Regions from separate parts of the Homo sapiens genome. Here region 2 is linked to region 1. The links are contacts of gene promoters, found by promoter capture Hi-C in human tissues and cell types (Jung and others, 2019). All regions are on one chromosome and are shown on one strand. Each heading gives the region's core, a stretch centred on a gene start or on the middle of the fragment in contact. The rest is flanking DNA. Distances are from core to core; before and after follow the strand shown.

Region 1 (4,878 bases), core at 833-3,332:
ACTTCTATGGGAACAAAAAAGACATATTCAGAACACTCATTAAGAATTTACACATTCTCTACTACCCTTTACTCAAAGTTAGTTTCGAAGGATGTCAACTGGCGAGAATGTTATGCTATGTAAAATGATGAGGTACAATATAACACATTCTTATAAATTAAAATGTAATTTTTAAATATATGTTTCAAAAAACTTTTTAAAACAGTCTTAGAATCAACTATCACAATAAAGATTTTATACTCATACAGAATCTTACCTAGAATAAAAAAGAAGTGGCCCAAGAAGCCTACTTGTGTACAGAGAAAAAATATGTTTTAAAGAGATTGTTCTAGGGTTAGAAATAGTCTTTACTGGCTATAGTAACATTGAGAAGTCCTTACCTTTCTTACAGAAGACTTGTCTACTCCTCCCTCATTCGTGAGATACTCGGAAGACCTATAGTAACTTTGAAAGTTGCTTAGCAGCAGATTAACCAACATTTCTAAGATCTTAGTCTAGTTCCTTGAGAATTTGTTCTAGTTAACTGTTTCTTGTTTTAGTATCAAGTCATTATATTCTTCTGAAAAGTAAACACCAAATATTTAATCACTGGGGGAGTTTTCTCCCAATCTACCCTTTCATAAATAACAAAATGGAATTTGAGTATTTTTTTTGCTTTGCTTCCTCATTAGTAATTTTGATTGTTATGAAGTTTTAGCATCCTCACTCATGAGATTTTCTTTACTACCCTATATAATATCAGTTCCTAGATGATAACCCTGTGTAATGATTCTCTATTGGAAGATCTTCAGTAACTGGAGCCTGCTGTAATAGCTTACCTGGACCTGTTTCACATGTAGTAGGGAACTGTTCAAGGCATGGACTTGAGTGATTTGGGTAAATCTGAGTTTCTTGGACCCACCAGTAAGGTCGATGACCAAATAATATCCTGTATTTAAAGAATTATAAACATGCATATATATTTAAATACACAGCTATTATTTAATTGGAGATTAGCAATTCTTTCCTATAAAAAATGACTCAAGCGCAGGGTTAATTGTGAAAGTTCATGATTAAGAGACTTTGAAAAAACTTAGGTCTTGGTCTCTCACACATTATTAAAGGTGGTAGCCATTTGGTATTTTGGCACCCTGGTTTCCCATGAACATGGGGGCTTTTTTCCCTTGCAGGGAATGTCTTATGGGTGCTTTGGATACTTAGACTGGAAATATCAAAATTTGTCCCTAGAATTATCAATTTGTTCATTATCACGCTGCTCATGTAAGTAATTCTTAATCACAGAATATGTGTTACAGGGGTTTGGGAATTACTTATAAGTCATTAAAGTACACATTTCTGGCCTGGCGTGGTGGCTCACACCTGTAATCCCAGCACTTTAGGAAGCCGAAGTCGGTGGATCACCTGAGGTCGGGAGTTAGAGACCAGCCTGACCAACATAGAGAAACCCTGTCTCTACTAAAAATACAAAATTAGCTGGGTGTGGTGGCACATGCCTGTAATCCCAGCTACTCGGGAGGCTGAGGTGAGAGAATTGCTTGAACCTGGGAGGCAGAGGTTGCAGTGAGCCGAGATCACGCCATTGCACTCCATCCTGGGCAACAAGGGCAAAACTCTGTCTCAAAAAAAAAAAAAAAACAAAAACATATATATACATTTCTGTGCCTTTTAAAAGTTCTACTTATGAATCTGGTGTTTCAAGTTACCTGGTATTTTTGAAAGATTTTCCAAGTAAAACGATATACATCTGAAATGTGATCATTATGCCGAAGTCACAAATTTAAGGATAAATCTTAGGAAAAAATGAAATAAAACAGAAATCTTACCATTTAAATATAAGATTTAACCAATCCCCAATGACTGCTACCCATATCATCTTGGTTCCAACTGTCTGATTAAATTGAAAACAAAGTGGAAAATAAATGAAAAAGATATTCCTGGGGTCTCCAACATTGGACATAAAATTTAGAAAAGTGTAGTAAGCTCGGTAGTCCTTCTGCAAATGCTGAATTATGAGCACTCCATTCCTGTGAAGGAAATCCATCTTGAAAAAGAGGCAATTCTAAACATAGAGCAATTGGAGCTGAAGTGCTCTGATTCCCACCGTTTTTATACTGTGCCTTTGTGGCATGTCGAGCCATTACTGCAACATGTGATGCTGACCATCTGTGGAGAGGGCACACCAGCCCTCCTCTGCTGAATAGCTCATCTATTTATGATTTTAATTGGTGGCAAAGAGTGAAGTACATGCTGATCTGTGGCAATTCGAGGGGGAAATTTGGATAGAAACACAATGAATTTCTTATGCAACCTCCCTTTTGTGCGAACAGTTGGATCATGTTTGCTTGAAATTTTTTGTACAGTTCATTTCCTCCAAGGTCAGACATTAGCAATTTCTATGTTTGGTGAAAAGACTTTGCAAATAATTATTGCATGTCAAATAGCCCATAAAGCCCTGCATTTTAATTTAAGATAGGCTGTGGCTCTCTATTTTATTGGGTCTTTGAGGAAAATGGTTGAATAAATATCTGGGTATGAAAAATATATGATATGACAGATTATGTTCTGATCACTGATTTAAAATAAGAATAGTTCAATTTTCTTTATCCAAGAGAATGATAGAATATATATGGAACAGGGAAAGAAATGTGTTGTTTTTTGACTATAAGACAAGAAAGCAGAAATGAAAGTCATTTGGATAATAGAAATGTGTTAGGATCAAATTGTATCTTTTATTAACTAGAGAATACAGTTGAGAGGAATAGGGAATGATTCATGTGACAAAGATAGGAATAGACATCAAAGGGCTTTTGACCAATCAGGAAAATGGTTTGTTGAGAACAGAGTGTTAAACAGAAGTGGAAAGCACCAAACAAATGCTAAGAATGAACAGAAGGGTAGCGCAAAGAGGCTGTGGATCTAAGTCATAGGTCCATAATCTACGGCTGTGGACTATGACTAGACTATAGACCAGGACTCTGGTCCTGGACTATAGACTACGACTGGACCCTGGACTATGGACCAGGGTAGACTGAGAATGAACAGAAGGGTAGCACAAAGAGGCTATGGATCTAAGTCAGAGAGATGTTGGGTTTAGAGAGCTGGATTGTGTCTAGGATTAGTGGGAAAGCAACAAAGCCTCACAAGGTGGCCAGGGATGGATCTAGGTAACCTTACTTGTTATTTTGTCATTCAGATTTTTGTCTTTGCTTACCATGGCCTAAGTAAAGACAAAAGACTTCACTAGAGTCCTTCACAGGCTATAACTATCACTTTGAACTTCTCTTCGAGTTTTGTGTCCCATCATTTAACAGCACCATTGTTACTGGGCTTCAGTGTCTATTGGTACCTTACCTGGAAGAAATGCATTGACTGACCATTAACATCTTTTGGGGTGCTTTTTAAATTGCCATAACTGTGTTCCACCTGAGATCAGTTATATTTCTGGTAATGGAATTTGGGCATTGGTATTATTAAAATACTTCTCAAGTGGTTCCAATGTGGTATAAGGGGCTTAGAATCATTGCACTAAGGCAATTCATATAAGGAATTATCCTTGACTAATTAGAGTCTATGCTTCTGGCTTTTCTTTGTTTTGCATATTCAGGTTCTGTAATTTCCATAATCTCTTTAATGAGCCATGAGGAAGAGCATAACTTCCCTTTATTCTTTTTCTAAAAAGTGTTTGATCTACGTAATTCATAATACTCATTTTCTTCAGAAATGTCTTATCCTTAAATCAGGATGTGAATGATATCAAATACATTTTGTCTTCCACTTAAAAATTAAACTTCCTGCTCTTCAGCACCTCAGAGTCTGTGATTAGCCTTTCATCTATGGTAGTTAATTTAGAAAGATTTTCTCTCGAGAACTACCTGGTTCTGTAGACTGTGGGATAATTAAGTGAAGCAAAAGCATCTTGATTTCTTTCACCCTTTAACAGCATCTGCTAATCTGCTTATTCCTCGTAGTTCATCATTTTTAGTCTTTTCATATCTTAGCTTCTATGCATCCATCGGTGATGCCTTCTCTGACCAGCATCCTCACCACTCCTCTGACAATACTTTCTCTCACACACTCTTTTCTCCTAGGGGGTTGTTTGAGTCTGCTAGGGCTGCTATAACAAAATACCAGACTGGGTGGCTTACACAACAGAAATATAGGAAACTAGGAGTCTGAATCAACGCGTCGGTGGCGTTGATTTCTTCTGAGCCTCTGTCCTTGGCTTGCAGATGACTGTCTACTCTCTATGTCTTCACATGGTCTTCCCCGCTATATGGGTGTGTTCTAATCTCCTCTTTTTATAAGGATACCAGTCTTATTGGATTAAGGAAGATACTAATGACCTCATTTTAACTTAATCACCCCTTTAAAGACCCTATCACCAAACACAGTCATTTTGGGAGGTACTGGGGCTTAGGACTTCAACATGAATTTGAGGGAATACAGTTCAGCCCATAACCGGGAGTTAAACACAATTTATAATTATATATTTATGACAAGTGTATATATTTAGCATCTCTCTCCTGTACTACAGTATAAGCTCCATAAAACAAGGGGTCCTGTCCACTTTGTGCAACAGCCACAAGCACAGTTCCCATAACAGGCCCGTGTAGAAGCCAATTACCCATGAAGCTGGAAAAGTTCGCACGGGCGCCTAAGATGGTAGGTTGGGCCGGGCGCAGTGGCTCACGCCTGTAATCCCAGCACTTTGGGAGGCCGAGGTGGGCGGATCACTTGAGGTCAGGAGTTTAAGACCAGCCTGGCCAACATGGTAAAACACCATCTCTACTAAAAAAAAAATACAAAAATTAGCTGGGCATTGTGGTGGGCTACTGTAGTCCCAGCTACTCGGGAGGCTGAGGCAGGAGAATCGCTTGA
Region 2 (4,878 bases), core at 1,210-3,709, 130 kb after region 1:
AAGAAATCTTGGCTGTGTGCACAAGAAATGAAATCTATTTCAAAGCAATTTAATACAAAACCATTCAAAAAAGTTCTCCAATAACCATCTTCTTTAATTTGAACTGCTAATTGAACATGAAGAGTGAAAATTAAACACCTAGTTCGTCCGGTTTAAATGGTCACTAAGACTGTATAGGCAATTTCAAAATGGGCACTGTAACTAAAAGAAAGCAAACCTATTTAGAGCTGAACGAGACTCTTGCACTGGGTTTTGCTTGCTCTAAGTGACAAAGTAAGCTGATGCTCATAGCACATTGGACTACAGCAAGAGAAAGGGGGAGAAGCAGATGGAGCATCTCCTTCACTGTCATGAGCCCAGTGAGTAAAAGGAGTGAGGAAACCCTCTTTTGTCCACAGATTTACAAATACAAAAAAATAAATAATATTCTAAGACAGTACAAATGCAAATACTGTTCCCTTGTGTCAATTACATACAGCATGCCTACAAAGAGAGAATGGTAATTCTTCTTCATTCACAGACAGGACACATGGCAGTGCACTATTCAAAATGCTTTGATAATCTTAATTTTTGTTTCTGGTGCTGAGATATTATGAAAGGAACTGCATTTGCAACTTATTAAATACTTCCAGGAACAAATAGTTCACTTTGCTTGGGACTTGTAGTTTTGAGTAATTAATCATCCATGGAGCAGGAGCCAGTCAGGAGATACCCGTTGGTACCACTGGTCCCATTGGTGGTTGTCGCAGTGTGGGGATTCTTTCCCGGAGGTTCTGAGTCCTCCTCATCTGAGCTAGACTCAATATCACTTCGATCATCCTTGGACACCTGTGGAGTAGAAGCAGGTGAGTATAACCAGCACCTAAGAAATCATCAAGGTATGGCATGCTAGAAGCACATGCAGTCATACACAAGGGGAAACAGATCCCAATGTTAAAAAACTGAAGAGGATGAGAACATTGCCAGAGCAATAAGTTCCCCTTCATTGGAGAGATAAAATGTAGGCGACAAAGTCATTTATGAAGGAATGTAAGTATCATGGAGGGCTAGACTTCTTGACTTCTTTAAGGTATCTTTCCATATTGAGAACATACTAGACCATGAATCCCACTTGTAATCAAAAAGTAGCATACTGTGTCACTGGAATGGCGTCATAGGAATTTGGTACAAATGGATCAATTTACTCATTGATGATCACATTCTCCTTGAGAATAATTTAAAATCAGCTCTCAATTAACCATAGCAATGGAGATAGTCACTAACTCAGAACACTGAAAAAAAAAAATTCCTATTTGGCTTTTTCATGCATTGTTTTATGATTACATTTCTATTTTTTGTATGCTATAATTAATTAGGAATTTTGTTCTGTATGTCACACAACAAATGACAGCAGGAAGCATTTTTTTTTTCTTTTCTTTTTTTTTTTTTTTTTTGAGTCAGAGTCTTGCTCTGTTGCCCAGGCTGGAGTGCACTGGTGCGATCCAACTCACTGCAACCTCCGCCTCCTGGGTTCAGGCAATTCTCCTGCCTTAGCCTCCCGAGTAGCTAGGATTACAGGCATGAGCCACCATGCCCAGCTAATTTTTGTATTTTTAGTAGAGACAGGGTTTCACTATGTTGGCCAGGCTGGTCTGGAACTCCTGACCTCAGGTGATCCACCTGCCTTGACCTCCCGAAGTGTTGGGATTACAGGTGTGAGACACCGTGCCTGGCCAGGAGGCATCTTAAGAACCTGCTGGGCGGGGTGAAGCTTGAAATATTTCCTGAGGAAAATCCACTGACTAGATCATCAAGAACTGGCTCCCAGCCAGGCGAGGTGGCTCATGCCTATAATCCCAGCACTTTGGGAGCCTGAGGTGGGTGGATCACCTGAGGTCAGGAGTTCAAGGCCAGACTGACCAACATGGAGAAGCCCAGTCTCAACTTAAAAAAAAAAAAAAATTAGCCGGGTGTGGTGGCGCATGTCTGTAATCTCAGCTACTCTGGAGGCTGAGGCAGGAGAATTGCTTGAGCCCAGGAAGTGGAGGTTGCGGTGAGCCAAGATCGCGCCATTGCACTCCAGCCAGAGCAATGAGTGAAACTGTCTTAAAAAAAAAAACAAAACAAAACAAAACAAAAAAAACTGGCTCCCATCCTGCCAAGTCTCTTCAATCCTCCATTCAATCTCACTAAGTCACATGGAGGTCAAAATAAGGTGAGAAGATGTAAATCTATACATTACCATAAACGATGAGAAAAATCCTACTATTTAGCAAGGAAGTAGTTTTTGGGGGAAATTAAGAAAATACTGCTTTTAAGATAAAAATAGTTTGAACCTCCTATTCTGTAAGTCTAAATTATGGTAAGCATTTTTACCCAGAAGGCCTTAAGATTCTTGAGTAACTCATCACTGCTTACTTATATTTTTCAGTGGTGTGACAAAAGAGACCTGGTGGCCTCCCTTCATAGGAATTTTCCCAATCTGGTCCTCCTGTGATTCTCTAGGGGGTGGGCTGGGGAGGTGGCAAAGTCTCCTGGGAGGTATGGCAGAATTAACTGGCGCTTTCCCACATCACATCCTGTCTATGTTACCACTACACTCTAACATGAGAATCCTGGACTCCCTCCACCTCTCCCAACTTGAGAAACTACAGTTCCTGTGGGAGAACGTCCTCTCTCTCAGGTGGGTGGGGTCAGGAGAACTTGAAAGCTGAGAACTACTGCTTTATGCCAACCAGTGGTGATGAAGTAAATATCATAAAAGTGAACCTCACTCCAATACCCGTTGAGATGGGACTGAACTCACACAGGCCATCTCCAAAAAGATTTAAATACTAAGACTCCAAAATGGCTAAAGATAATTGAACTTAAACATTGTGAGTCACAAAGCCAGCATTATAGTAAAGTTCCACTATGTTGTTAAGTCCATTAGTCATAAATAGAAAACTCCAGTTTTACAAAGTGATTAATTTACATTTGCATGCTCAGTCAGATTTTTTAAATTGCACTTAGAAAAATCTATACTTATGTTACCTTCAAAGAAAGGACAATTTAGAATATCTCAAAATAGCCCAGAGGAAAATAACTCATGGTCAAGATGAATCTTACTATCCCAGGTGAGAGCCGCAAGGGCAGCTAAGATATTCTGAAGCCTGAGATCTAGAATAAAATTAATCATCATCTCTCTTCATAAAGTAGAAGGAATAAGTTGAAGAGCAGGCAACAAGTCTGGTAGAAATAGCAATGCAATTAAGGACACAAGTAATCTAAGCAGCATTCTTGCATATTTAGTTATTGTTATCATATTGACAGTTTTGTGCATGTTGATTAAATTTGTATCCAAATGAGGACAAGGAGATTTTAAAATAGAAATACATGTTCATTACAAAGAGTGAGAGGTCACAGAGAAAAATGAACTTTAGCTTCTGAACAATTAATTGATCAAAATAATTAGGATTTCTACTAGAGCTGGTGCTGAGAAGTGGCTTCATAGTACACGACTAGATGCCCCGACTTCCCCTGCAGAACAGGCCAGCCCTGTTGACCTTGATGAGTCAGAGTGGTCAGGTGCTGCCATATGGCCCCAGGCAGGTCAGGCCCACAGCTGATGCTCAGGCCTCCATTCTGCAATGTGTTGATCCTCTCCCCCTCCAACTAGTTCTGTTTCTCCTACTTTACTTTGGTCTATTTCTGTCTTTTAGCCAACACATTAAACCTGGCAAGTACCTGGCAAGCTTTCACACCATCCTGTCAGAGAGGGGGTAGTGAAAGAAATTCTTCTTCTCTGTTGGATCATGCAACATTTAGCAGAATACAAGCTCACACCAAAGGGCCCTAACAGAGCTGTCTCTAGTGTCTCTTGCAGTTCACAGAGCTACAGCTCACATGAAGCCTCTAGACAGTGCCAATAGGTTAGACAGAACAATATGCGTGGAAACAAAAGCATCTGAGTGCCCCTCCAACAGGCAAGAGGCACTCAGGACAGGGATAGAGAGAGAGGAGGAGAAACTTACATGTAAAGGGTTCCACTTCCCAGCCTTCCAGGGTAGCAGAAGGAAGAGAACAAACAAGTAAGAAAATGTCACAGAGAATGATCTGGAAAAGTCTCTGCTCTACACACAGGGTTGGGGCTGAGGCTTAGGAAGCTTTATTCGAATCAACCTCAAGTCCACTTTTAACCAAAAAGATTTAACTAAATCTTGTTGGAAGTCATGAACAGATTTGTTTTTCAGTTTGAAAGAAAGGTTTGTTTAAACCGGCATACAGCACCAAGCGACCCTTCTCATAAAAGGAAAGAAGTGATTAAATTTCTGTTCAGTATAAATATAATCAGAGGAGGTCCAAGGTTGACAGGAAGAGGGAGAGCGAACACAACAAATAATATATTATTAAGTCTAAAATTACAAATGCATATCATTGGGTGCCATCGCCAGCAAAGGAACACTGAAGACTTAAAAAATGAACTAGAAAAGGAAATGACTCAATTTTTGCTCAATTCTGAAGAAATACTACCAATTTTGATGAAATATGGAATAGTAAATAGTTGATCCAGAGAAATTACAAAAACAAAATTTTTTAAGACATATTGGAAAAAGTGAGTTGTAGCTTACCTTGCCTCTTGAAACAGCTTTGCAAGCTATTTTCACAATCAAGTAAGACCAGAAGCAGTTCAACCCTTGTACTAGCAATAGCAGTAGGTTAAAAACCCACCAGGAAGGGTAAGGTCCAACGATCTCCCAGCTTTCAAATAATGTGGTATTTAACACCCTAAGGAAAAGAAGGAGGTGATTAGTGAATGTGGCATTTTCCTTTGCTTTCCAAGGAACTCTAGTCACTGCATTAAAGCACAAGGTCAACAATATCTCCCAACTACCCCCTCTCTGGCAGGATGGTGTGAAA

Evidence for each region. The method cuts DNA at HindIII sites, captures the fragments that hold promoters and counts their contacts. A contact is called where the count stands out against the background at its distance.
Region 2: a fragment that was not itself captured here is called in contact with the fragment with the promoter of G6PC2 in region 1 in 1 of the 25 tissues and cell types used here (stomach).

Annotation. Positions count from the first base shown.
Region 1 is chr2:168,898,495-168,903,372 of GRCh38, reverse strand. G6PC2 (glucose-6-phosphatase catalytic subunit 2) reads right to left here and starts at 2,082. Exons shown (of 5, transcript NM_021176.3): 1 at 1,824-2,082; 2 at 819-928. The coding sequence starts at 2,041. The HindIII fragment of the contact is 19,052 bases long and covers 1-4,878 here.
Region 2 is chr2:168,765,460-168,770,337 of GRCh38, reverse strand. It overlaps CERS6 (ceramide synthase 6), which reads right to left. Exons shown (of 10, transcript NM_203463.3): 9 at 4,590-4,746; 10 at 1-828. The coding sequence ends at 676. Among named protein-coding and RNA genes, the nearest start is that of CERS6-AS1, 19 kb to the left of the region's middle. The HindIII fragment of the contact is 4,087 bases long and covers 416-4,502 here.